Regions from separate parts of the Homo sapiens genome. Here all the other regions are linked to region 5. The links are contacts of gene promoters, found by promoter capture Hi-C in blood cells and fetal thymus (Javierre and others, 2016). All regions are on one chromosome and are shown on one strand. The core of a region is centred on a gene start or on the middle of the fragment in contact, and the rest is flanking DNA. Distances in the headings are between cores, read along the strand shown.

Region 1 (4,519 bases), core at 392-2,891, 370 kb after region 5:
AAATATGTTTCATTTCCTTGATATTTGTTGAGAGTGGGAGCTATATATTTCCTTTGGTACCTTATATAAAGTATGAACTCTGTAAGGATTTTTTTCAAAAATCTGAATTTCCAGCACAAAGACAGAGATGATATATAACACTTAGATTTCAAAAAAAAGCTTTATAATTCTTGTTTGGATTTTTTCCCCTAGGATAAGTACAAAATTTTATCATTACCTCAAAAGGGTGGTTATATGACCCACAAGGTACATGTAAAATGTTAGGCTTAAGATAGAGGCTAATGTTTTTGATAAGAAAATCTGCCAGTAGGTACAGTTTGGTCACAGGCTGAATTACTGTTCTGGCAGAATCCATACGTGCTTACAATGTTTGCACAAGCCTCAGGTTTTAGGCTAAGGCCAAACAAAGCAAGTAAGGAGGATTCGTGCTTTCCGGAAGCTCTGAAATTGATAACAGTAACTGAAACAGCCATCCTTGTATCATCATAAGGCCAAAAGAACACAAGCTAAAGACAATAAACGTGCCCATATTGGGATGAAAATGTAAGCAAATGCCTAGCATAGAGAATAGTCTGTGGTCTGTGGATAGAATAGTCTGTGTGAAAAATTGGCCGAGAAACATAAGCAGAGACAAGGTTTTAGGGAAAGATATCCATAATTCTTCATCATGTCCCAAATATAGCTATGCAAAATGTGCTTTTCAACATCAGTGACTTAGTTTCTCAGTAGCTTTGCAACTAGTTTGTTCGTTAGCTCTAAAAGGTAGAATCAAAGATATCACCAATACACATTAATTTGGCATCTCATCCTTCATTGATGAGAATGACAGGAGAATCTGTTTTGTTTTGTTTTGTTTTGTTTTTTGAGACAGAGTCTTGCTCTGTTAGCCACCCTGGTACAATGGCATGATCACAGCTCACTGTAGCCTGGCCCTCCTGGGCTCAAGTGATCCCCCTGCCTCAGCCTCCTGGGTAGCTAGGACCACAGGCGTGTGCTTTTTAAATTTTTTGTAGAGATGGGGTCTTGCTATCTGGCTCAGGCCGGGCTCAAACTCCTGGGCTCAAGTGATCCTCCTGCCTTGGCCTCCCAAAGTGCTTGGATTACAGTAGTGAGTCACCACACCCAGCCAGGAGAATCTATTTAGAACTGTTGGCATCTATCAAATCAATAAGCTGTTATATGCCAGGCACTGTGGCTCACGCCTGTAATGCCAGCACTTTGGGAGGCCGAGGCTGGCAGATCACTGGAGGTCAGCAGTTCGAGACCAGCCTGGCCAACATGGTAAAATCCCATCTTTACTAAAAATGCAGCTGGTTGTGGCAATACACTCCTGTAATCCCAGCTACTTAGGAGGCTGAGGCATGAGAATTGCTTGAACCTAGGAGGTGGAGGTTGCTTGAGCCAAGATCGCGCCACTGCTCTCCAGCCTGGGCCACAGAGCAAGACTCCATCTCAAAAACCAAAAAAAAAAAAAAACAAAACAAAGGCAGCTAGGAAAAAAAATGAAATAAAATAGTTCGAATTGGCATAACTGAAAAGCACTATTAGTCATCCAATAGCCACCTTGCAAGATTCTGCTAGTCAATGAGTATTTCATGAAAACAGCCAGTGTGCTGAGCACTGTTCAGGTCTTTGCAGGAAGGCAGGGGAAGTGCAGGGCATGCCTGAGGTCTGCTGAGTAGGTAATTCCAACATTCCAAGTAGGAGTTGGGTACAGAGTATTGAATCTTAGAATGAAATGTGCTATGTTCACCTGCATCAATAGCTCTATCTAATTGTATCCAAGTTTTCTTGAAAGGAAAACTACTTTTACCTTTTTTATGGCCACCATCATGTCTAGTGTAGAATGTGAAAGTTAGTGTTGCCCAGTGGAAACAGGCAGGCATCTTGATTCCACATCTTGGCTGTCACTCATGAGCTCTGTAACTTCGGACAAAACATCTCTTCTATCAGATTATATACTGAGGCCAGGCACAGTGGCTCAATGCCTGTAATCCCAGCACTTTAGGAGGCTGAGGCGGGTGGATCACTTGAGGTCAGGAGTTCAAGACCCACCTAGCCAACATGGTGAAACCTCATCTCTACTAAAAATAAATTAGCCAGGCGCGGTGGCACATGCCTGTAATACCAGCTGCTCGGGAGGCTGAAGCAGGGGAATCGCTTGAACCCAGGAGGTGGAGGTTGCTGTGAGCCGAGATCATGCCACTGCACTCTAGCCTGAGTGACAAAGCAAGACTCTGTCTCAAAAAAAAAAAAAAAAAAAAAATTATACCCTGAGAGAAAGGCTTGGGTTTTCTTTTTATTTAAGGGATATCAGAATTAATTGCTTTAATCTATGGGAAGATATGTTTTATGTTCAGTAGTACTCCTTAAGTCAGGAACTATTGCTTATTTCTTTGTTCTCTGTAGTTCTTTGCATATGATATGAACTCAATGGAGAAAACATTATTCACTTAGAGTGGTGTAGTAATTAGTGAAAATATTTGTGACAATGCTAGCCTCAGCAAAAGTTGGCTTACTTTCTACATGAAAATGTCAAAACAATCTCAATTTACTATTAATTTTAATTTTAATATGACACTATTAGATTTAAACTACCTTTGCTTCTTAAAACAAGATTTTAACTCAGAGTTGGTTTCAAAGAAGGAAGCTGTATGAAGATTGATCTTCTAATAAAGAATTAAATGTTTTGAAAACAGATGTTTTTAAATTTCAGTATGCAAAAGAAAAATTCAGAAACTTACTTAAATTCAGATTCCTGGCTCTATCTTGAGAGGTTCTGATTCTGCAGATTTGGGTGGGGTCCAGGAATCTGCACTTTAGGGATGGGGTCCAGGAATCTGCACTTTAGCAGTCTTTCAGATATCTCTGAAGTCATCTGTCTTCCTGATGACCAACAAATCACATTATGAGAAGTATTCTTCCAGAGTGCATAACAGTTTCATTAGCCAGTTTAGTTATGCTATAGTTAGAGCTGAAAAAGCTAAACTTTTAAAATAGATTTGTTGAGGTAAAATTGACATATAACACATATCTCAAATGTATGCTCTTAGAAGTTTGATGTATGTGTAAACTTGTGAAACCATCACCATATTAAGATAACGAGCATCTCCTTCACCTACAAAAGCTTCCTCGTGCCTTTCCAGTCCTGCCTTCTCCCCTCATTCCTGTTAACCACTGATCTTCTTTATGTCACTAGATTAGTTTTCATTTTCTAGAATTTTGTACAAATAGAATCCTATAACCTATACTTCTTTTAGTGAGGAGGTGTCTAGCTTCTTTCACTCAGGATAGTTATTTTAGGACTCATTCATGTTCCTTTTTATCACTAAGTAGGATTCCAGCATATGCCTGAAGCACAGTCTGTTTATCCATGCTCCTGCTCATGGACGCTTGGGTTGTTCCAGGGTGGGGCTTTTGCACATAAAGCTACTATGAACATTTGTGCATGTGTGTTTGTATGGATACATTCAGAATTAAATTTGTAAGATTTCATGCAACTTTTCACACTTTTCTTTCAGAAAGTCATTGGGTGGTACAGATTCCGGCGCAATACGCAGCAGCAGATGTCCTACAGAGAGCAGGTTCTTCACAAGCAGCTCACCCGCATCCTCGGCGTGCCCGACCTCGTCTTTCTTCTCTTCAGCTTCATCTCCACTGCCAACAATTCCACTCACGCTTTAGAATATGTGCTCTTCAGACCAAATAGAAGGTAAAGCTTGCTTTTCCATCTGCCTCACATATAAGAAGGACGTTGGGACCAGGCGTGGTGGCTTACGCCTGTAATCCCAGCACTTTGGAAGGCTGAGGCGGATGGATCATGAGGTCAAGAGATTGAGACCATCCTGGCCAACATGGTGAAATTCAAAAATTAGCTGGGTGTGGTGGCACGTGGCTGTATTCCCAGCTACTCGGGAGGCTGAGGCAGAAGAATCGCTTGAACCTGGAGGCAGAGGTTGCAGTGAGCCAAGATTGTGCCACTGCACTCCTGCCTGGCAACAGAGCAAGAATCCATCTCAAAAAAAAAAAAAAAGGATGTTGGTACAAGTCACTGAGATTCGTGACTTCAAAAATGTGCATTATAGTGCATTTTTTTTTTTTTTTGAGACAGAGTCCAGCTCTGTCACTCAGGTTGGAGTGCAGTGGTGCAATCTCGGCTCACTGCAACCTCTGCTTCCCAGGTTCAAGCGATTCTCTTGCCTCAGCCTCTCGAGTAGCTGGGATTACAGGCACACACCACCATGCTGGCTAATTTTTTTGTATTTTTAGTAGAGACGGGGTTTTGCCCATTTTGGCCAGGCTGGTTTTGAACTCCTGACCTCAGGTGATCCACCTGCCTCGGCCTCCCAAAACTTTATGCATCTTTAAATAAAAACTTGTATTATTCCCTTTAGCTCTTTTTGTGGTTACGGAAGGTATTTTTCTTGTCAGTTATTTACATAAAATTGTTTTTGGATCAAGAAGCATTAACAAGACATGTTTATTATGCATAAATTCTTATAAGGAATAAATAGCTGGA
Region 2 (3,931 bases), core at 658-3,157, 470 kb before region 5:
GGAAGCTTACAGGTCTGGAAAGGGAAAATTAAATTCTTAGGGGTGGGGGATCCAGAATCCCACAAGATGGAGCAAATAACTGAGCCAAACTCTCAGTCAGTTTTTAACAGAAGATATTGGGAAATTTCTGGAGCTACACAAAATGGAAACTAGGTAGGCAAATACAGAGCCTCTGAAAAGCTAAGTGAAGTTTTCAATAGTCTTACTGTGCTGAGGACACTAGGACTAGAATTTAGAACTTATGGGGCAAGGGCCATGATAAACACCCCAGCCACTCAATGGAAAACCCTAAAACCATGCTCTAAGAATAAACATGATCCAGGAGTAGGTAGAGATTCAATACTGCTACTGAGCCCTGAGTTAACTCAGTCCCTGGTTGAATTAAGCTGACTAACCCATAGTATATGATATGGTTTGGCTGTGTCTCCACTCAAATCTCCTCTTGAATTGTAGCTCCCACAATTCCCACATATCGTGGGAGGGACCTGATGGGAGGTAACTGAATCATGGGGATGGGTCTTTCCCATGCTGTTCTTGTGATAGTGAATAAGTCTCATGAGATCTGATGGTTTTATAAATGGGACTCCTGCACAAGCTCTTTTTTTGACTGCCTCCATGTAAGATGTGACTTTTCTCCTCATTTGCCTTCTGCCACGATCGTGAGGCCTCCCCAGCCATGTGGAATTGTGAGTCAATTAAACCTCTTTCCTTTATAAATTACCCAGTCTTGGGTATGTCTTTATTAGCAGCGCAAGAACAGGCTAATACAGTATATCTACCTATCAGAGGAAAGGATGAACAATGTCCAGCATTCAATAAAAAATGTAGGCATACCAAGAGACAAGACTAAATGGTCAAATATCAGGGGGAATATTTAGATATGGGAAATCAACCCACAGGTGATTCAGATATTGGACTTAGCTGATAAGGGCTTAAGTGAACTGTTATTAATATGGTAAAGACAATATAGAAAAAGATAGATGGATGAAAATAGAATTTCATCAGACAATTGAAAACTATGAAAGGAACTAAATGAAAATTTTAAGAACTAAAAATTGCAAAAACTAAAGAATTCAGTAGGTGGATTTATTATTAATGTAATCTGTTATTATTAATAATCTATTATGAATAGATTAGAAACAGCAAAAAAGATTAGTGAATTAGGAAATACAGCAATCTAAAAAATTAAGATTGAAACACAGAAGAAAAGAAGATAGAAAATACAAAAGAGAACATAAAGGACATAGACAGCAGTGTAAAGGTCTAACATTAGTGTAATTGCAGCCTCAGATAGAGAGGAAAGAGATAATGGGATAAGGAAATATTTGAAGAACTAATACCTGACAATTTTCCAAAACTGAGGAAAGACATTAGTCCACAAATTAAAAATCTTTACATACTCTAAGCAAAGTATATATAAAATAAATTTTACTTTAGTATAGCTGAAAAACAAAGATAAAAAAGGAAATTGTGAACACAGCAGGAGAGGAACGACAGATTACCTTCAATGGAGCAACAGTAAGACTGAAGATTGGCTTTTCAGAAATGATATGTTTAAAGAGCTGGAAGGTAGTAAAACTAACCTGAAATTCTATATTCAATGAAAGTGTAACAGCTCAATAGGTTAATCTTGCCCACTGCCCACACAGATACAGCCAATGTATCAAGATGGGGAATTGCAATAGAGAAAGAGTTCAATATATGTAGAGCCAGCTAAACACGGACTGTAGTTTTACTACTATTCAAATTAGCCTCTCCAAAAATTGGAGGCTAGGGTTTTGTAAAGATAGTTTGGTGAGCAGGGGGATAGGGAATGAGTGCTGCTGATGAGTTAGTGATGCAATCATAGTGGTGTGGTAAGTGGTCCTCATGTGCTGAGTTCACTTCTGGGTGGGAGCCAGAGAGGAGTTGCTGATCCAGTTGGAGTCATCTAGTCATCAGAAATGCAAAAGTCTGAAAAGACATCTTAAAAGGGCAATCTGAGGGTCTACAATAGTGATGCTCTTTACAGGAGTCATTGAAGAAGTTGCAAATCTTGTGACTTCCAGAATAATGGCTGGTAATCATTTAACTATGCCTGCATCTTAGCAGAATTCAGGTCCCTCTAATCTTCCTAACCTGGTTGCCTTTCATTAGTTTTGCAAAGGTGGCTTAGTTTTGGGAAGAGCTATTATGTTTTAGTCTCCCAAAGTTAGTCTGGCCCATGCTCAGGAATGGCCAAGGGCAGTTTGGAGGTTAAAAGCAAGATGGAGTTGATTAGATCTTTCACTATCATAATTTTCTCACTGTTCTAATTTTTGCAAAGGCAATTTCCAAAACATCTTTCAAAAATGAAGGGAAAATATTATTTAAAGACACCAAAACAGAAAAACCCAGTGTAAAATAAATGCCAATAGAAATTCTTCAGACAAAGGAAAAGAACCCAGATTTAAAAACTGAAATGCATGAAGAAATTGAAAGCTACAGAAAGAGTATATATGTAAATATAAATAAATATTAACCATACGAAACATCAAAAATGATGTCTAGTGGGATTTAAAATATATATTGACAAGAGTAAAGGAAAAGAATGGGAGCAATAAAGTATTCTAAGGTCTCAACATTGTGTAAAAGAAATAAAAGTCCTAAATTATATTAGACAATATTAAATCAAGGATACATGTTGCAACATTTACAGTAGTTACTAAAATACTTAAGTACCAAGTTTATATAGGGAAAATAGAATAATAAAACTATTCATCCAAAAGAAAGTAAAAAAAAAACCCAAGACATGGAAAAGCAACATAAAATGGGTACAACACAAAAAGTAAAATGGTAACTATAAATTCTAATATATTAATAATTATGTCAAATATAAATTGACTAAATACTTCAAGTAAGACCAAAATAGTCAGATCTGATTTTATTAACTCAAGTATATACTGGTTACAGGAGACCCACCTCAAAAGCAAAAAAGGATGAAAGTCAAAGTTGAAAAAAGCTATGCCAGATAAACACTAAACAAAAGAAAGCTGGTATCATTATTCTAATATCAGAAAAGTAGACTGGAAGGTAAGAAGCATTGCTAGACATAAAGCAGTTGCTTTGCAATGATAAAAGGATCAATCCACTCATAAAGCAAAAACAGACAGAACTAAAAAAGAAAAAGAGACAAATTCACAATAATATTCAGAGGCACAAACACACTCCTCTCAATATATGATAGAAATGCAAACAGAAAATCAGTAATAGCACAATTAGCCTGACCTAATTAACACTGTATCCTACAATGACAGAATATGCATTCTTTTTAAGTGCACACATAACATTTAATAAAATCAGTCATATGCTGGGTCATAAAACAATTCTCAACAGATTTCAAGGGATTTGAATCACTCTTGACAACTGTGAAATTAACCCTCTGACCACTGTGAAATTAATCTAGAAATTAATAACAAAAAGTTAATTAGGAAATCTCCTTTTCTGCTATGCTAGCAATCTCTGCCTCCAAATATATGTCAATGTCCTTTTAATTCATAGGAAAACTTGAAGGAAGGAAAAAAGACACTTCTTGAACAGAAATAAAATAGAAACTACAGCCAGCGGGTAATCCATGAGCCAACACACCAGGAGCCCAGGGAAACATCAAATGTGAACACATGTCCTAAGGGCTCACAGCTGGGTTTTGATGCTGATTAGGAGAAACGGAATATGACTTTGACCTGCATGAGGCAGAGGTGAACTAAGAACTCTGAGTAGAGTTGAGACCCTGGAAGACTGCCCCCTTCTTATAAGAGGAACTAGAAAAACTCAAGCAAAATCTCCAGAACCAAGCTTGACTGCACAGAAAAAGCAAAGGGGAAAAATATCCCACTGGAAATGGAAACTCCAAACTCATTCCATCCCAATCAGATGTAAAGTTTTAATTTATACTTCCCACAAAGTAAGGAAA
Region 3 (4,517 bases), core at 1,317-3,816, 450 kb before region 5:
CGAAGAGCCCCATGGCCAGCAGCACACTCAGCTCGGCTCTGGCCTGCAGGGGGATGTGGGACAGGGAGGGGATGCAGTGAAGGCAGCGGTGGAGCCCAGGACGGAGTTTCTGTCCCTGGGAGTCTGGGCACACAGTGGGTCGCAGGGGAGGAGGAGGCCCTGCTGTCCTGGCATTGCTGTTGCTTCCACAACCTGAAGATGGCACCCAACCCTGACCTCAGCCCTCCCTACCTGCAGCAGCTCGGTCTGGCCTCCCAGCCCCAGACCATGTCTGAAGTCATTGAGTCCACACGGTTCCACCGCCTCCTTGGAAACCCTTTTCAGAGACTCAGAGTTGAGAAGCTGAAGCTGGGACTCGAGCTCTGGGGACCAGCAGACCTGAGATCAAGGACCAGCTCTTCTCCTTACTAGCTGAGGGGACTGAGCCCCAATTCTCCCACCTTTATAATGGCGGAACCAGAATAAAGATAAAACCTCCTCCTGGGGTTGCAGTGAGGATCTAATGAGACACGAGGAGACGCCCCAGCACAGGGCGTGGCACTCACCCTGTGTTCAATCATAGCTGGCCCTGTTATGACCGTTTTCATCCCCTTTACCATGGATGGCCTCTCATCTGGCCATTGCAGGTGACAGGTGTGTCCATGTCCCCTAGACATCCTGGGCGTGCTCAGCTCTCCTGGCTTTCAGCCGTTTGGCAAAACACCCTCCAGCTGATCTTGTATTTACCACAAGTCAATTGTGTTTGCCCCCGAGCCTTTTTCATGCCAGCTGTTCTTGATATTATGAAGGCACAGGTTAATTAAATATCATATAAGCTAGCAAGTTTTCAAACTAGTTGGGTTTGTTTGTTTGTTTTCAGAGGTGGGGTCTTGCTCTGTCCCCCAGGCTGGAGTGCAGTGGCATGATCACAGCTCACTGCTGCTTCAAATTTTGGTGCTTAAGTGATCCTCCCACCTCGGCCTCCCAAGTAGCTGGGACCACAGGTGTGTGCCACCACATTCTGCTAATTTTTATTTATTTATTTATTTATTTACTTACTTACTTACTTACCTACTTTGTAGAGACAGGGTCTCACCATCTTGCCCAGGCTGGTCTCAAACTCCTGGGGTCAAGGGATCCTCCTGCCTCGGCCTCCTAAAATGCTGGGATTAAAGGTGTGAGCCACCATGCCCAGCCTCAAACTGTTTAAAGATTCCTTTATACTCTTAAAAATCATTGAAGATCCCAAACAGCTTTTGTTTCAGTGGCTTGCATTGATTGATATTGACTATCTTCAAAATTAAAGATGAGAGACTTTCAAAGCACAGAGACACACAAGCACGCATTCCGTCGGCTGTCAGAGGCCAGGGCTGGGGGCTGGGGGCTCTGAAAATCTTTATTTGTACCTTCTGGAGAAAATGAGAGCATCAAGGGCAAACAACATCTCAGTTTGACCGTGAAAAGAATTTGGACTTTGGATTCCCTGAAAGGGTCGCAAGTGGTCCCTGGGCCACTCTCGGAGAGCCACTGAGGGAAGCTGATGAAATATTAATGCAGAAAGGGAGCTGCTCCCTGAATGCTAGGCTGGAAGCTTTGGAAAGTCCCAGCACAGATGAGGGTAATGATTTGGGGAAAATAATCACACAAATAATGAAGGACTCTGCCTCGAGATTGCCTTGCAAGCGCCTTCCAGTTCTCATGTCCCTTTAGAAACACTGAAACCAGAAATCAGTGCTGATTCACTGCTCTGTGGTTTCTGCCACAGAGATGACCCAGAGCTCCAATCAGTGGGCTCATGCTCAGAGAAAAGGTTTTGGCTCCATACCAAAAGGCAGACAAATAGATGTGCTGTACTTCACATATTTGAAGTAAAAATAAAATGTTTAAGAAATGTCTATGTGGTTAAGTAGGACTTCCCCACCCATCTAACTTGCCCAGCTAACGCTGCAATTACGGATGTTGCAAGAACGTTGACTCGACCCAGCCTTCCCCTGCTACGGTAAATGTCCCTCACCCCTCCACCCTCAGGCTGGACACCAGCTCCAAGTCTAATCCTTGTCTTTGACCATTTGGGGCTTGACTTTGCCTTTGACCTTGCCTCCATTGCCTGCCACATCCTTCAGTTAGTGACAAGCACAAGATGGGTCAGATTTGGTGGGTTCCAACACTGGGTCCAGTACTAAGTGTGTGACCTTGGAGCAGTCACCTAACCTCCCTGAGCCCCAGCTTCCTTTTCTGTAAAATGGGAAGTTACACATAAGCATACATATACCCCAGCTCTGTGGGTGCCGTCAGTAGTGATGTCACCATCCCATTGGTACAGTGCCTTTGAGATGGCCCTTCAGCCGTGCTTCCTACTCCCAGCCCCTGTGATCACTCACTTGGACCATAGAAGCCTCAGCCTTAGTCCTTCCATTTCCAGGCACTTCTACCTGCTCCAAATTAATGACCTAAATCCCTGCGCTAACCAATAATTCCTCTGCTCAGAAAATGTCAGTGTGGGAAGCTCAATACACCACTAGTTCAACCAAAGGCATTTACCCTGAGACCCAAACCCTCTTTGACCTTGTGCCCACTTACCTGGGTGGCTTCACCTCCTACTGCTACAACAATCGTGCCTGAGGACCATTGCTGAGGTGACCTGCCCCCACCTCCAGGGTCCAGATGCCATGTGGAGGGTATTACATGCGTGAACCCTTATCGCCATAAGGGCCTGAGTCTGAGTGCATACCCATTCTGCAGATAAGAAAACAGAGGCTCAGTAGCATCAAACCCTCTGCCTAAGGTCACACAGAGGACAATGGCAGAGCCAGGATTGTAGTCCAGGTCTCCCTGACTCCAAAGCCCAGAATGTTCGTATACTCCTTTCCGGAGGCACTGAGACCTTCCCTGCTCTTTTGGCCTTCCCTGCTCCCTGCCCCTGCTCACCCCAGCCCCTCCTCTCGGCATGCCTGCCCACCTTTCTAGATCCTGCCAGTCTTTAGGGCTCAGCTTAACGCCACCTCTTTCCTGATGCCATCTGGGTCACAGCCCCCATGCACCCTGCAGACCTCTCCTCTGCTGGAGGTTCTGACATTTGCACAAGGCCTGCATTCTTCTAGGCTCTCCCTGTTCCTTCCTTAGGAAAGTGAGCCTGGCCCTTACGGTGAGGTCCTCTTTCCCTGCTTCACACTCCAGAGCGGCAGGCCCCAACTTTTTGGCACCAGGGACCAGTTACATGGAAGACAGTTTTTCCACAGTTTGGTGGGGGGGATGGTTTGGGATGATTCAAGCTCATTACATGTATTGTGCACTTCATTTCTATTATTACTATACTGAAATACGTAATGAAATAATTCTACAACTCACCATCATGTAGAATCAGTGGGAGCCCTGAATTTGTTTTCCTGCAACTAGGTGGTCCCATCTGGGGGTGATGGGAGACAGCAACAGATCTTAGATTCTCGTAAGGAATGTGCCACCTAGATCCCTCACATGCACAGTTCACAATAGGGTTGGAGCTGCTATGAGAATCCAACGTTACCACTAGGAGGTGGAGCTCAGGTGGTAATGTGAGCGATGGGGAGCAGCTGTAAATAGAGATGAAGCTTTGCTTCTCACCTCCCGCTGTGTAGCCCAGGACTGCTACTGGCCCATGCCCGAGGGGTGGGGGATTGCCTGCTCTACAGCATCATCACACATGCCTTTGCCCCATCTAAGTTTGTTGAGTGAGTATTATGTGCAGTCACTGATTCAGGCTCTGAGGCTGCAGCCATGAACAGAGTTCCCACCTCAAGGAGCGGAGGTCCCTGATGGGCAGAGGGCTGCTGAAGCAGCAGCAGACACACAGATGGTCCAGTCTCAGGTGACAGCTGTGAGCAAATCAAGCAGGGAGGCTGGCCATGCAGGAGAGGTATTATTTTGTGTAAGTGGTCAGGGAAGGGACCGTAGTGAGGCGAAGGCACTGGCCTGGCCAGGGTCAGGGAAGGGACCGTAGTGAGGCGAAGGTGCCGGCCTGGCCAGGGTCAGGGAAGGGACCGTAGTGAGGCGAAGGTGCCAGCCTGGCCAGGGTCAGGGAAGGGACCGTAGTGAGGCGAAGGTGCCAGCCTGGCCAGGGTCAGGGAAGGGACCGTAGTGAGGCGAAGGCACTGGCCTGGCCAGGGTCAGGGAAGGGACCGTAGTGAGGCGAAGGTGCCGGCCTGGCCAGGGTCAGGGAAGGGACCGTAGTGAGGCAAAGGTGCTGGTCTGGCCAGGGCCAGCGAAGGGACCGTAGTGAGGCGAAGGTGCCAGCCTGGCCAGGGTCAGGGAAGGGTGTGCCAGGCAGGGCACCCCAGGGTCACAGGCCAGTACAGGGAAGGGCTTGGTGTGCTGAGCATGGCGGTGAGGTCAGCATAGCCAGGGCTGAGGTGAGTGCGGGCAGCTGAGGTCTCAGAGGTCAGCAGGGCAGGGTAGAACCCAGGGAGGGCCTCGAGGGCCATGAGCAGGTCTTGGCCTTTTATCCTAGGTGTGTTGGGGGGTTGGGGAGGGTTTCAAGGAAGAGAGTGACATGGTTTGAAGGA
Region 4 (4,141 bases), core at 1,553-4,052, 490 kb after region 5:
TTAGCCCATTGTTGAATCCTAGAAATCTTTTAAGTAGTGTGAATATCTTTTAAATATGAATTGGATTTTTTGGGGGGCAGGGGATGGAGTCTCACTCTGTCACCCAGGCTAGAGTGCAGTGGTGCGATCTTAGCTCACTGCAACCTCTGCCTGCCGGGTTCAAGCAGTTCTCTGCCTCAGCCTCCTGAGTAGCTGGGATTACAGGCACCTACCACCATGCACGGCTAATTTTTGTATTTTTATAGAGACGGGGCTTTACCATCTTGGCCAGGCTGGTCTTGAACTCCTGACCTTGTGATCTACCCGCCTCAGCCTCCCAAAATGCTGGGATTATAGGCTTGAGCTACTGCCCCCGGCCATGAATTAGATTTTGAGTATATTTTAAATATTCAAAATTTAAAATATTTTAATTATGAACATTCACAATTATATTGGAATGATTATGCTACTGGTTATTTCAGTGACCTTCCACAGATTTAATTTTCCCCAGTACAGTCTTCTTTTTTTTACTCCAGATAGAACTAGATTTTGAGGCTACAGATTATCAAGGAACTACCTATTTCATAATGTTACTTTGTTAATTGTAGCCATTACTTCTCAACATGTTTCTTTACTACCTGTGCTAATTAAGAACAGTGGATAATTAGCATTTTAAGTTGCTTTTCTCCCTTAGCGAGAATGATAAAATAGACGTTGCTTGATCTTCTGAATTCATGAATCATAATCTGTGTTCATAATTTGAGAATGGTTATGTGTTTAAGCTATTTTTTAGTTTGTGTTGTTTCCTCTACCTTTGTCTCTTTAAACTATTGGTTACTTTTCTAAATTGATGTGATGGCCTCCCTGAAATTAAACATTTCTATTAGTGGCTTCCCGTTAATCTCATCCTTCTTAGATCAAACCTCGTTATATCTCCTGCCTATCTCTTTTGCATTCCAAAGTTCAGTTTTATTAAATCCCAGGGTCTAAGATTTTTTCTTTGAGAATTTATCTCCAGTGTTTCTATGGAAATTAAAAAAGAAAATTAGGATAATTCAATGTCGAAATGTTGCATGCATCTTTTGAGAAATTTATATTTTGTAGGTTGAAGGACTTGCTTTTTGGGCAGCGTATTTTTGGAGGTGGAATGTAGTTATTTTAATAACCATGTCCTAATTATTTATAGCTTCCTGCCTGACACAGCTCACTTCAAGAAGTGCACAATGTCAGAACGTGGAATTAAGTGGGCTTGTGAATATTGTACGTATGAAAACTGGCCATCTGCAATCAAGTGTACTATGTGTCGTGCCCAAAGACCTAGTGGAACAATTATTACAGAAGATCCATTTAAAAGTGGTTCAAGTGATGTTGGTAGAGATTGGGATCCTTCCAGCACCGAAGGAGGAAGTAGTCCTTTGATATGTCCAGACTCTAGTGCAAGACCAAGGGTGAAATCTTCGTATAGCATGGAAAATGCAAATAAGTGGTCATGCCACATGTGTACATATTTGAACTGGCCAAGAGCAATCAGATGTACCCAGTGCTTATCCCAACGTAGGACCAGGAGTCCTACAGAATCTCCTCAGTCCTCAGGATCTGGCTCAAGACCAGTTGCTTTTTCTGTTGATCCTTGTGAGGAATACAATGATAGAAATAAACTGAACACTAGGACACAGCACTGGACTTGCTCTGTTTGCACATATGAAAACTGGGCCAAGGCTAAAAGATGTGTTGTTTGTGATCATCCCAGACCTAATAACATTGAAGCAATAGAATTGGCAGAGACTGAAGAGGCTTCTTCAATAATAAATGAGCAAGACAGAGCTCGATGGAGGGGAAGTTGCAGTAGTGGTAATAGCCAAAGGAGATCACCTCCTGCTACGAAGCGGGACTCTGAAGTGAAAATGGATTTTCAGAGGATTGAATTGGCTGGTGCTGTGGGAAGCAAGGAGGAACTTGAAGTAGACTTTAAAAAACTAAAGCAAATTAAAAACAGGATGAAAAAGACTGATTGGCTCTTCCTCAATGCTTGTGTGGGTAAGTTTCTGTATTCTGCATTTTTTGCGTGGGATGGGAAAAGGTAGTAAAAATGATATGAAAAGAGCTGGGTGCGCTGACACACGTTTGTGGTCTTAGCCACTTGCTTGAAACCAGGAGTTTGAGGCTGTAGTATGCCATGATCGGTCTGTGAATAGCACTTGCACTCCAGCTTGGGTAACATAGTGAGACTGTGTCTCCACGCACATGCAAAAATGTGAGTGTGTGTGTGTGTGTGTATATATATATGCGCAAAGTCACTAGCATTTGATTCATTCAGCACGATAGCTGTACTTTCAAGTATGCATACATAAAAATTTGTGTATTTGTGATCTTGTCGTAACTTTGTACTAAATTGCCCACAATTAATTGTGTTCATGTCTCTCCATTACTGGGGGCAGTGGAAACGTTTAAGTTAAAGCAAAGTTTTTACACATCAGCAGTAAAATATATACCTGGACTTTAAAACTGCTACTCTGTTTATTGTAACAAGATGTAACTGAGGAACACCAGCTGCTGTTTCCAAGTATTTGTAAACAGTGTGAGCATCTTGTGATGATAGAAGCTTTAGTCAGATGTTAAAAATACCACAAAAATGTGTGACTCCAAGAAGTTGAACAAACATATTGACCTTGAAAATACTGGTGTTAATTTAACATGAATGTCATGTAGTAAATGTTTGCAAACTTTATGGAACTGATTACATGTAGCCAGCTGATTCCATACTTCAAGTTATGGTTCATATGTATTGTGACATTTTCCTCAGGAAATGCTGTTAAAGGACAGAGACATAGGAGAGCAGAGTTTTTCTTCAGTTCTTGACCTTGTGAGTTAATTGTGATGTAATTCACAAAAGCAGTGACTTGAGTCTTCAGTATTTTTTTTTTGAGTAGATTAGATGTTTGATTTTTATTAAATTATTTGGATGGGCTGCTTGCTTTGACATTTGGTCTTATGAGGGAAATTTTGAATGATTACTAAGTTTAAACTTTGTGTGGAACAATAGCTAAGCTTTAACTATACCTTAGCTGTATGTTTTCCCTCAGTACCAATTTCTTTTATTTATCCCTCTGGGTACAGCCCAAGAATATGGAAAGTTTAGGTGTATGAACCTGTGAGTCCTAGGAATTGATTTCCAAGAAATCGTGAGTTTTAAAATTAAATTATATATATCATTCCCCCCCCCCCCCCGCCCCAAGATGGGATCTCACTCTGTCACCCAGGCTAGAGGGCAGTGATGCAATCATGGCTCACTGCAGCCTCAACCTCCTGGGTTCAAGTGACCTGCCATCTCAGCCTCCCCAGTAGCTGGGACTCCCCATTAGCATGTACCACTATGCCCTGCTATTGTTTTAAATTATTATTTGTAAAGATGGGGGTCTACCTATGTTGCCCAGGATGGTCTTGAACTCCTGGGCTCAAGCGATTCTCCCACCTCAGCCTCCTAAAGTGTTGGGATTATAGGCATAATTTGCTGTGCCCAGCTGAAATCCTGAGTTTTCAATTTTAGCTTTGTTCTGGCAAAAAAGAATATCCCAGCAGATGAATCCTTCTGACCTCCAGACTTAGTAGGCACTTAGCAAGTCTTAGTTCTAGTTTCCTCCCATCCTGAGGATGAGGGGATGAAAACATACCGGGCTATCTTCTGTCTGTGTTGTCCCATTTTATTCCTCTGATTTTTCTGCTCCAAATTGAGGGGCAACATACAGTATGATTGTCAGTTAAAAAAATTTAAACAGGAGATACAAAAGGGTTTTGTTATTAGTTTCCTTAGAGATCAAATTGATTTAACATAAAAATTCACCGTTTTGCAAGTGAACAACTCATTTGGCATTTAGTGCATTCACATTGTGTAACCACTACCTCTGTGTTGTTCCAGAACATTTTCATCATCCCAAAAGGAAACTATGTACCCATTAAGCAGTTACTGCCCCCTACCCCTACCCGCTAACCCTTGATAACTGCCAGTCTGCTTTTGGTGTCTGTGGATTTACCTATTCTGGATATTCATATAAATGGAATCTTTACATATCTGTGAGCTTTTATGTTGGGTGTGATTGTCTTTTAATTGCTTGTATGCCTTTGGAACAGTCTTAAAATCATTTTTTTTTTTTTTTTTTTTTTT
Region 5 (4,213 bases), core at 810-3,309:
TCCCCAGACGCCAATGCCCCGGCCGGGGCGTCAGGTGAGCGCGCTAGGCCCGGCAGCAAGCGCGCAGCCCGCTCCCGCAGCCGCGGCCTCCTCGGATCCTCCGCATCCTCCTCCTCTTCCGCCTCGGAACCCTCCAGGGGGGACGCCTGGCCGGCGCCTGGGCCCGCAGCATCTAGGGGAGAAGGGGTCGGTGAACAGAAGCCTCTCCAGGTCCCCAAACCTCGTCCTCGTCCTCCCTAGAGCAAGCAGCTGTCCCCCCAACCCAACTCTGGGTGCTGCTCCTGTCCCCACATCGCGCTCCCCTTAGGCCGGACTACACATCCTCGCCAGCGGGTTTAGGGGAATGGTGTCCTCTTGCCCTTTACAAATCTGCCATCAAGTAGGCGTCCAAGAAATGTACGCCAAATGAATGAATGACACCCCGCATTAAGAAAAAATAGTGACATTATTGGGTAACCATACTGGGGGGTAGGATCATTGTATTAAGACATCTAGATGTCAAACGCTTTTAGGGCTGTGCCTTCCCCAGACCCTAGAAGCCTATTTTGATCTAGGACTCCCAGCAATTAAAAAAGAAGTTATTAAGCTCTCTGCCCCACCCCACCCCCGCCCCCGCTTTAAAGTGAAATTCCCTTTCCCATCTTCTCTCTCCCGCCGTGTTAATAGAGTTTCAGATTTGTGCGGGGCCGGATCGATAGATGTCATCTATTAAAGGTAAGTTTTAATCGAACAATATTAGGATCAGACAGGGAAAGGGGGTTTGAAGTCGGTACCTGCAAGCTGCGGGCAGGAGATATGCAGGCGCCAGTAATAGAATATCGATCACGAGGGTGGGGGAAGGGAGGGCGGCCCCTCGGAGAGAAGATCCGAACAATTACCAGGCCGCCTGCCTGGGCCCAAGTGCGGCCGCCAGAGGCGCCCCGGGCCCCAGGCAATCACCGCCAAACTTGGGGAGGGGAGCAGGGGGCTGCGCGGCATCCAGCCTCCCCCGATGACCTGAGCCTCTGACCCTCCAGGGAGCCGCCTTTCCCTGTCTGATCCCAGCAGGACTCCTGCTGTCTTCCGTCCTTCCTTCCAGCCACAAACTTTCCTAACCCCTTCATCAGGTGTCCGCCAGCGTTGGGAGTAATTCAGAAAGGGTTTCGAGAAGAAAGTACCGAAAGCTTCCCAACACTCCATCCGAGCCCCGCCCCCAGCCCAGTCCCAGTTAACAGTTGAGTCTGGGGAGCTTGAGCGCCTGGGGCAGCCCAGCCCCGCAGGCGTCTCCGGGTGGCACCTGACCTCGCTACTCACGAAGACCCCCGGCGCAAGCCTTAGCGTCAGCTCCCCCATCCATAAAATGGAGGTGATGTTAATGATGCTGTCCATCTCTCAGGTTCCGAAGTTTTCATCACCTTTATCCCAGCCCTTAGCCCAGGTCCTAGCACGTGGCAAGCGCATTAAATGCCCGATAAATGAGTAAGCCTGGCAAGACAGGCGCCAGGTAAGTTTCCACCGCGAGCATCAGAACTGTGGTGCGGGTGAGCTTGGCGGGTGAGCAGGGATGCGGCAAATCCCTGCCCTGTAATGCGGGGAGCCTCCTCTCTGCCTCTATCCAAGTCCGAGGCGGGGGCTACACTTCGCACCCGGTCCCGTGCGCCTTCTCTCTGAGGAAGACGCTGTTAAGGGCCACTCACCGGGCCCGGCTGTTCCCCCATACACTCCGCATTGTTGGGGCTGAGGCCTCCTGGGGCCGGGGCCGCCTTGCATCTTACCAGGGGTCTCCAGCTGTCGGACAGGGTCCCTGGAGCTGGCATCTTTCCCCGCTTCGACCTCCGCCAAACTTTTCCTGGCTTCCCGGGGAGCCGGGCGCACGGCAGGGAGCGCTGCGCGGGTGAATTTCTGTGGGTCCAGGATGTCCAGGACAGAGAAAGAAATCTTGTGGTGGGAGGGAGCCGCCTTGGCCCCGCCGTCCTGCCATGCCAGCATGCCCGTCGCCCACGGGCCGGCGGTCGGCGGCGCGGGGTTGGGGATGGCGCCGCTCGGGCTTGCCTTCGGCTGTGGCTTGGCGGTAGCTTTCCAGCCAGGAGCCGGGTCCGCGCTGCCAAGTGAAGCTGGGGAGGGGGGCGGGGAGGCGGGGCGGGGAGAGCGCCGCGGGGGGCTGCGCGCCGATTGGCACCGGCGCAGCCCGGGCCAGCCTCGGGACTATCAGGCGCTGTGCCGCGGCCGCTTGCCTGGGCTCGGGGAAGCCTCCGCGCGCCCGGTGCGCGCGACCGCGGGGACAGTGTTGTCGTCTCCGCGCGCCTCCGCCCAACCCTCTGGGACTCTCCGAGGGCGCGAGGGAGGCTTCCATCCCGGGGATCCCTCACCCCGACACACACACCTCTGTGACTTGAGTTTGTTCCCTTTCTCCGGTGCACCCGCCTTAGACTTGGGGATGCAACTGAGGCCAGGACTGCTTACTCCCAGGCAATGCTCAGCGCATCTCCTTCCCCGCCAGTGAATTACTGTAATAGCTTCAGACCCGGTTACCTCGGAGGTAAAATCCCTCACGTTCTCACAGTTTAGCGTTCACAAAGCCCTGAGGCTTGCACGATCTCTTTTGATTATTTGAGCATCCCTGTGAGATGGGCGTCACGTGGCACAGACCACTGTCCCCGTTTTAAAGATGAGGAAATCGAGGTTCAAAGGTAAGAAAAGATTTCCCCAGGGTCACTGTGAGTTGGTGACAGAGTCTGGGTTTGGACCTCGGTCTTCTACTGGACCAGTCAGTGCTTTTTTAGTACATCCTGCTGTCTCAGAAACGGAGGGAGAAAATCCCGGACTCTCAGTCTTTTGCTTCCACTCCAAAGCCAAGCCAGAGGCCAGCAAGAGGTTTGGAGAGGTGGTGAGCCCCCACCGGGATTCCAGCCGCTTTGGAAACCTTGGTGGCTTCAGGCACAGAGCCAAGTGAGATGGCTGAGGGTGTCTGCCCTGGTTTGCTGTGACCCGGAGCACAGCCCTCAATGGACAAACGTCAGGCCTTCTCCAGAGTCACAAATTCGATCATTTGCAACAGAAATTGGATCTGAGAATTAGGTTGCATCTCTGACCCCCATTCCCTCTCAGCCCCAGAAGCAGAAGATTCAGAAATGCCTGTCTGGTTTGAATTTAAGGTCCGAGAAGAGAGACAGTTGAAATGGCCCTCATCTGCCCCACCAAGTCCCCTGGGAAAGTGATCACCAGTGGTCGGAGAAGCTTCCACTGGCCACACCAATCCTGAATTTCTTCTTTTGTCTCTTGGAAAGCACACAGCAGTCTGTGAGCACTAAGCATTTGTTTCAGGCAAATTCTGAGGCTTCTCCTAGTGTTTGGCCCAGAACCACCTCTGACTCTGCCGTTCCTTTCTTCTCCGCCCCATAGGGTTTCCAAACAATGACTTGGCAATTAATATTGTCTGAGCAGGTAAGGAGTAGGAAGAGGAGGAGAAACCTTCTCATTAAAGTGCTGGGGGCTGCTAATCCCATCTGTTATTGAAGAGGCATCCTTAGAAGCCAGCTCCTTGTAGCTTTTCTCATTCAAACCTTGCTGCCCCTCCCAGAGGTGGTCACTGTATTCCCTGCGGACTTTAAAGCCTGCGGAAATCAAGCCAGCTCCAGTCCTAAAGTGAAGACGGATTGTGCTTTTAAAGCTCAGGAAAGGAAGTGCCCTTCCCAAGTCCACTGGACCACCTCCCATCGAAGGGAATGTGAAAATCCCAAAGAAAAGATGGCCCTGAAACTAAAAAGTGGCGCCCGACAACCTGGACTGCAAATCACAGAGCCTTCCTGAAATACAGATGGGGTACTTTGTTTTCTGTTTTGATAATGCTTTCTCACCCAGTTCTCGATTTTTTTTTCTAATCTTCCTTTTTGTTTCTCCCCCTTCACCCTTTTGATCCTAGCCGCCCCTTCTACATTTTCCCACCATGTTTACTTTTTTTTTTTTTGAGACAGAGTCTCTCTGTCACCCAGGCTGGAGTGCAGTGGCGCGATCTTGGCTCACTGTGCAACCTCTGCCTCCTGGGTTCAAGCAATTCTCCTGCCTCAGCCTCCCAAGTAGCTGGGATTATAGGTGCGCGCCACTGTGCCCGGCTAATTTTTGTATTATTAGTAGATACAGGTTTTCACCATGTTGGCCAGGCTGGTCTCAAACTCATGATCTCAAGTGATCCGCCCACCTTGGGTTCTCAAAGTGCTGAGATTACAGGCATGAG
Region 6 (4,475 bases), core at 1,161-3,660, 310 kb after region 5:
CTTCCATTTGTTCTGGTTTTAGTCCCTAAGAAGCTAGCTTCCAGCAGGATTAGAGTAATAAGAAGAGATGACAACTTCCTTTTCCTAACCTTATCAAAAGCTCTATGGTTAAAAAAAAAAAAAAAAAGAAAACCTTCACCTTTGCAAATGGCACTAACATGCCCCAAATAGTGACTCGAAAAGCTTTTCAACAAAGAACCATTCTAAGCTTTTTGTGAATCAAACTCAACATCTCAGTCTAGTCACACAGAAAGCCTAGTTTGTAGGATTAGCACATTAAAATAGCATATACTTAACTCAAAATTCTAAGAGTACTTATCTATGTTATATTTGAAATCAAAGAATATTAATGTGAAAAAAAACAAAGACCCGATCTCAAAAACTATAAAAGTTTCTACAGTTTAAGATCTCCTGTCTTGGTAAAATCAACACAATCTTCTAAAAAATTTAAATTGCATATATTTTGAAGTAATTTCTCACTTTTTACATGTTGAAAATAAAAGCTTTTCAAAAAATGTTATTTTTGTTGACAGTCCACATACATGTCTTCAACTATCTTGTCTTAATGGTTGATCAATGTTGATCTAAATGAAAAACTCACTCCTCTGGCTACCCCTCCCCAAAAAGAAAAGGGACGTAATGTTAGACTTACTCAATACAGGAGTAACATTTGCCAAACAAAAAGTCACTTATGTAACCCAATAGGCCCACAAAGCTGAAAATCATCAAAAAATTATGCAAAAATTTGTATTTAGCTCCAATATTAAAATATTACCACAAATACAAAATGGTATTAAGTATGAATATGACTTATCTTTTCAAAAACATTAATAAACTGTTTCTCTTGCCAAATTAGCCCCTAACTAGAACATCTTTGTGCATGTATCGCTGAGGGCTTATATAACTTACACTACCCTTTCACAGAAGAATGACAAAATTCTTAATAGAGGCAAGTCTTTGAGTAGGGAGATGGGGAAAAGTAATGAAGGATGATATGAGACAGAGTTGGCTGACTGCTATTCTGATACTCCACAGATGAACACTAATAAAGTAACTACCCATCTTTTCTAACTGAACTTTATATGTAATCATCATGGGTCTCCAGCTGTACTGTAAATGCTACAAAGGCAAAGACTAAGCACCTGTGAGGCAGAATATGCTAGGAGAAGAGTATGTGTTTTAAAGTCAGACAGACCCAGATAAAAATCCTGGCTCCATCCTGTACTGTTGAACCTCATAAAAGTGACTTCACTTCTCTCAGCTTCATTTTCCTTATACGTAGAAACAAGAACAAGCAATACATACCTCAAGAAGACATTGAAAGGACTCAATTACTTAATAAGACAACTTAACATAGCGCTAGCAAATAATAACATTCCTTAGTTCTCTTTCCTTCTACTACCCTTACAGTGTGTAGAAGACCATAGCTGCAAAATGCAGGCTTGATAACTTGAGCAACTGATACATTTCTCTGATTTTGTTTAATTATATACATAAAGGTAAGAGGCCTTTTCACAGGTATTAATTAAGTTTAAAAATAACCGCCATCCAACACAAAATAGTATTTCTTGTTATATTTCATAAACAGTCTAACAAAACACTAACAAAGTTATTTTGCTTATTATTCTGATGCTGGAATAATTTGGTCAAATATTCATAAATAGTTATCAACTTTACCAAGGCACAAAAATCAAGAATACATGCTTTCTATAAACTCATTTACTACTTTAAAGTTTTTAACTGTTTAGCAGTTATAGGAAATTTTTTTAATCGAAAAGAAAACTATTTACATTTCAAATACAAAAGAAAATTAAAATTATTCTTGATTGATCTCTAAAACCCAACCACTTAGATGCTCATTATTATTATTTTCTTTCACCAATCCAGTATACTCTATTCAACATGTGCATCCTGTGTACTTACTAAGCATTTATTTGCACAAGGATTTTCTGTGTCAGGTTAACTTTGCTGTGTAGATTCTGTGTAGCTACCTGAATTCGTCCAAGAAAAAGTCTCACATTTTTTGGAAAACCAATGCTGCTACACTGTTTCCAGATCTGCCTCCAAAGCTGAACTTGGGTGTTGGTAGCTCTTCGAGAAGTTCAAATCCTGTCAGACAAAATTTAAATACTTTTATTAAGAATTGAGTCTCATACTTACATGTATTTATATGCATGCATTAACACTGTACCATTGAACCCTTTGTAAAACTATGATTCCAAACTCTAAATTGTGCTGAATTTCACTTCATGATTTTTCAATTCTACTATGTATGTACAGCATATGTATGCTCCTCCAAAATCACTTTGAATTTAACAAGGAAAAGACAAGACCAAAAACAATTTGGAAAAAACAGGCTTTCCATCCACCTCCCATTTCCTCCACTTCCTGTTTGTCATCTCTGCAAAGCTGTATCTCTGTTAGCCTCTATCACCTGGTTTGTAGGAAGCAGCTAGCATGTGTCGAGTTTTTTTGTTTGTTTGTTTGCTTTTTGAGACGGAGTCTCACTCCATCACCGAGGCTGGAGTGCAGTGGCACAAGCTCAGCTCACTGCAACCTCTGCCTCCAGAGTTCAAGCGATTCTCACTTCAGCCTCCCAAGTAGCTAGAATTACAGTTATGCACCACCACACCCGGCTAATTTTTCATATTTTAGTAGAGACAGGGTTTCGCCATGTTGGCCAGGCTGGTCTGGAACGCCTGATCTCAAGTGATCCACCCACCTCAGCCTCCCAAAGTGCTAGGATTACAGGCGTGAGCAACATCGCCTGGCCCTGTGTTGAGTTCTTGCTAAGCGCCAGGCATTATTTTGAGTGCTTCATATGTAGTAATCTAATTAATTCACACCACACATATTAAAGCACTTAATACAGAAAGGCAAAATAACTTGGAAATATAAATGAATTTGTAGAAGATGAAAAAGTTCTGGAGAAGGGTAGTGATGACAATTGCACAAAAAAATGTAAATGTACTTAATACCACATAAGTATACACTTAAAAATGGTTATAAAATGGTATGTTATGTGTATTTCAGCAGAATTAAAAACAGTAATTTATAACAAAGATGAAGACTCAAACTAAACGAACTAATAAAGGGCCTGGAAGACAAGGAACTAGTAACTTTCAAAGCATCACAGTATGGTTTAAAAAAAATTAACTTGGCGTCTAAAATCCTAGGTTCAAATCCTAGGTTCAAAAAATTAACTTGGAATCTAAAATCCTAGGTGAAGTCTCAGCTTCAGCACTTACTAAATGAGACAGGCTGTCAAGTTACCTCTACCATGATCCTGATTTCTATGCACTTTCTATCACTTAAGGCTAGGTATTCAAGACCAGCCGGGGCAACATGGCGAAACCCCATCTCTAAAAAAATACAAAAATAAGCCGTTGTGGTGGCCTGTGCCTGTGCGCCTGTAGTCCCAGCTACTTGGGAGGCTGAAGTGGGAGATGCCTGGATGATGGAGGCTGTGGTAAGCCGAGATTATCCCACTGCACTCCAGCCTGGGCAACAGAGCCAGACTCTGTCTCAAAATAAATTTTAAAATTAAAGTAAAATAAAACGCCAATCAAGGTTTTCCCTCATTGATGGACCTATTAGTTTTGGAATATTTTTTTCTTGAGGCAGGGGTGGGGTTCTGTATTTTTCTAAATTTTCATGCTTTGAGCTCAAATAACTCTTATAAACAGAAAAAAATGTTTTAAGTGATGTATACTGGCCGGGTGCAATGGCTCAGGCCTCTAATCCCAGCCTTAAGCTACTAACGCCAATGCGCCACCCCACGCCATCAAATTCACTGTGATTTTGTAAAGATCCAAATAAGGTAATGTAGTGTTTTCCTAAACTATGAAATAAAATGTTATATTATTTTGCTTTTAAAAAATAAATAAAGCTGGAAGGTCACTTACTAAAATGCCAACGAGGGCCTGGCATGGTATAATCCCAGCACTTTGGGAGGCCAGGTGGGAGAATCACTTGAGCCCAGGAGTTCCAGACCAGCCTGGACAACATGGCAAAACCTCGTCTCTGCTAAAAATACAAAAATTATCCAGGCATGATGATGTGTGCCTGTAGTTCCACCTACTCGGGAGGCTGAAGTGGAAAAGATCGCTTGAGCCCAGGAAGTCAAGGCTGCAGTGAGCCAAAATCCTGCCACTGTACTCCAACCTGGGCAACAGAGAGAGAGACAGACCGTTTCAAAAACAGAAATAAAAATTATATTATTGCATCAATTGGTCTATCATACTATTTCATTATACATCCTAATTCATGTTATCTAATTTCACCAAATCATAATAACCGAATATTATAATGCTTATTAAAAGCTTATCGTAAGAAAACTTTTCCAAATTATGACATTCCTTTTAATAAAATAATATGATGTTTCTTAATGCTGGAAAATGCAGGCATTGTCCTGGATACATGCATAGTTATACACCCATATTTGTTTTCAAAAATTTTACAAATGCTCTGGATAT

Evidence for each region. The method cuts DNA at HindIII sites, captures the fragments that hold promoters and counts their contacts. A CHiCAGO score of 5 or more calls a contact.
Region 1: a contact is called between a fragment that was not itself captured here and the fragment with the promoter of NKX1-2 in region 5, in 2 of 17 cell types (activated CD4 T cells and non-activated CD4 T cells). The highest score is 5.7, in activated CD4 T cells.
Region 2: a contact is called between a fragment that was not itself captured here and the fragment with the promoter of NKX1-2 in region 5, in 3 of 17 cell types (neutrophils, monocytes and naive B cells). The highest score is 7.4, in neutrophils.
Region 3: a fragment that was not itself captured here is called in contact with the fragment with the promoter of NKX1-2 in region 5 in 1 of 17 cell types (naive B cells); the score reaches 5.2 in naive B cells.
Region 4: a contact is called between a fragment that was not itself captured here and the fragment with the promoter of NKX1-2 in region 5, in 1 of 17 cell types (activated CD4 T cells). The highest score is 5.4, in activated CD4 T cells.
Region 6: a contact is called between a fragment that was not itself captured here and the fragment with the promoter of NKX1-2 in region 5, in 2 of 17 cell types (total B cells and naive B cells). The highest score is 6.9, in total B cells.

Annotation. Positions count from the first base shown.
Region 1 is chr10:124,823,074-124,827,592 of GRCh38, forward strand. It overlaps ABRAXAS2 (abraxas 2, BRISC complex subunit), which reads left to right. Exons shown (of 9, transcript NM_032182.4): 5 at 3,522-3,712. Among named protein-coding and RNA genes, the nearest start is that of ABRAXAS2, 24 kb to the left of the region's middle. The HindIII fragment of the contact is 2,968 bases long and covers 158-3,125 here.
Region 2 is chr10:123,976,528-123,980,458 of GRCh38, forward strand. No RefSeq gene overlaps it. Among named protein-coding and RNA genes, the nearest start is that of CPXM2, 87 kb to the left of the region's middle. The HindIII fragment of the contact is 3,808 bases long and covers 4-3,811 here.
Region 3 is chr10:123,995,820-124,000,336 of GRCh38, forward strand. No RefSeq gene overlaps it. Among named protein-coding and RNA genes, the nearest start is that of CHST15, 96 kb to the right of the region's middle. The HindIII fragment of the contact is 1,996 bases long and covers 1,569-3,564 here.
Region 4 is chr10:124,941,292-124,945,432 of GRCh38, forward strand. ZRANB1 (zinc finger RANBP2-type containing 1) reads left to right here and starts at 832. Exons shown (of 9, transcript NM_017580.3): 1 at 832-2,016. The coding sequence starts at 1,203. The HindIII fragment of the contact is 446 bases long and covers 2,580-3,025 here.
Region 5 is chr10:124,447,976-124,452,188 of GRCh38, forward strand. NKX1-2 (NK1 homeobox 2) reads right to left here and starts at 2,060. Exons shown (of 2, transcript NM_001146340.3): 1 at 1,755-2,060; 2 at 1-172. The coding sequence starts at 1,968. RefSeq lists enhancers at 2,929-3,484, 3,485-4,041. The HindIII fragment of the contact is 2,053 bases long and covers 1,162-3,214 here.
Region 6 is chr10:124,758,395-124,762,869 of GRCh38, forward strand. EEF1AKMT2 (EEF1A lysine methyltransferase 2) reads right to left here. Exons shown (of 7, transcript NM_212554.4): 6 at 3,906-4,164; 7 at 1-2,109. The coding sequence ends at 2,109. Among named protein-coding and RNA genes, the nearest start is that of FAM53B, 16 kb to the left of the region's middle. The HindIII fragment of the contact is 3,819 bases long and covers 502-4,320 here.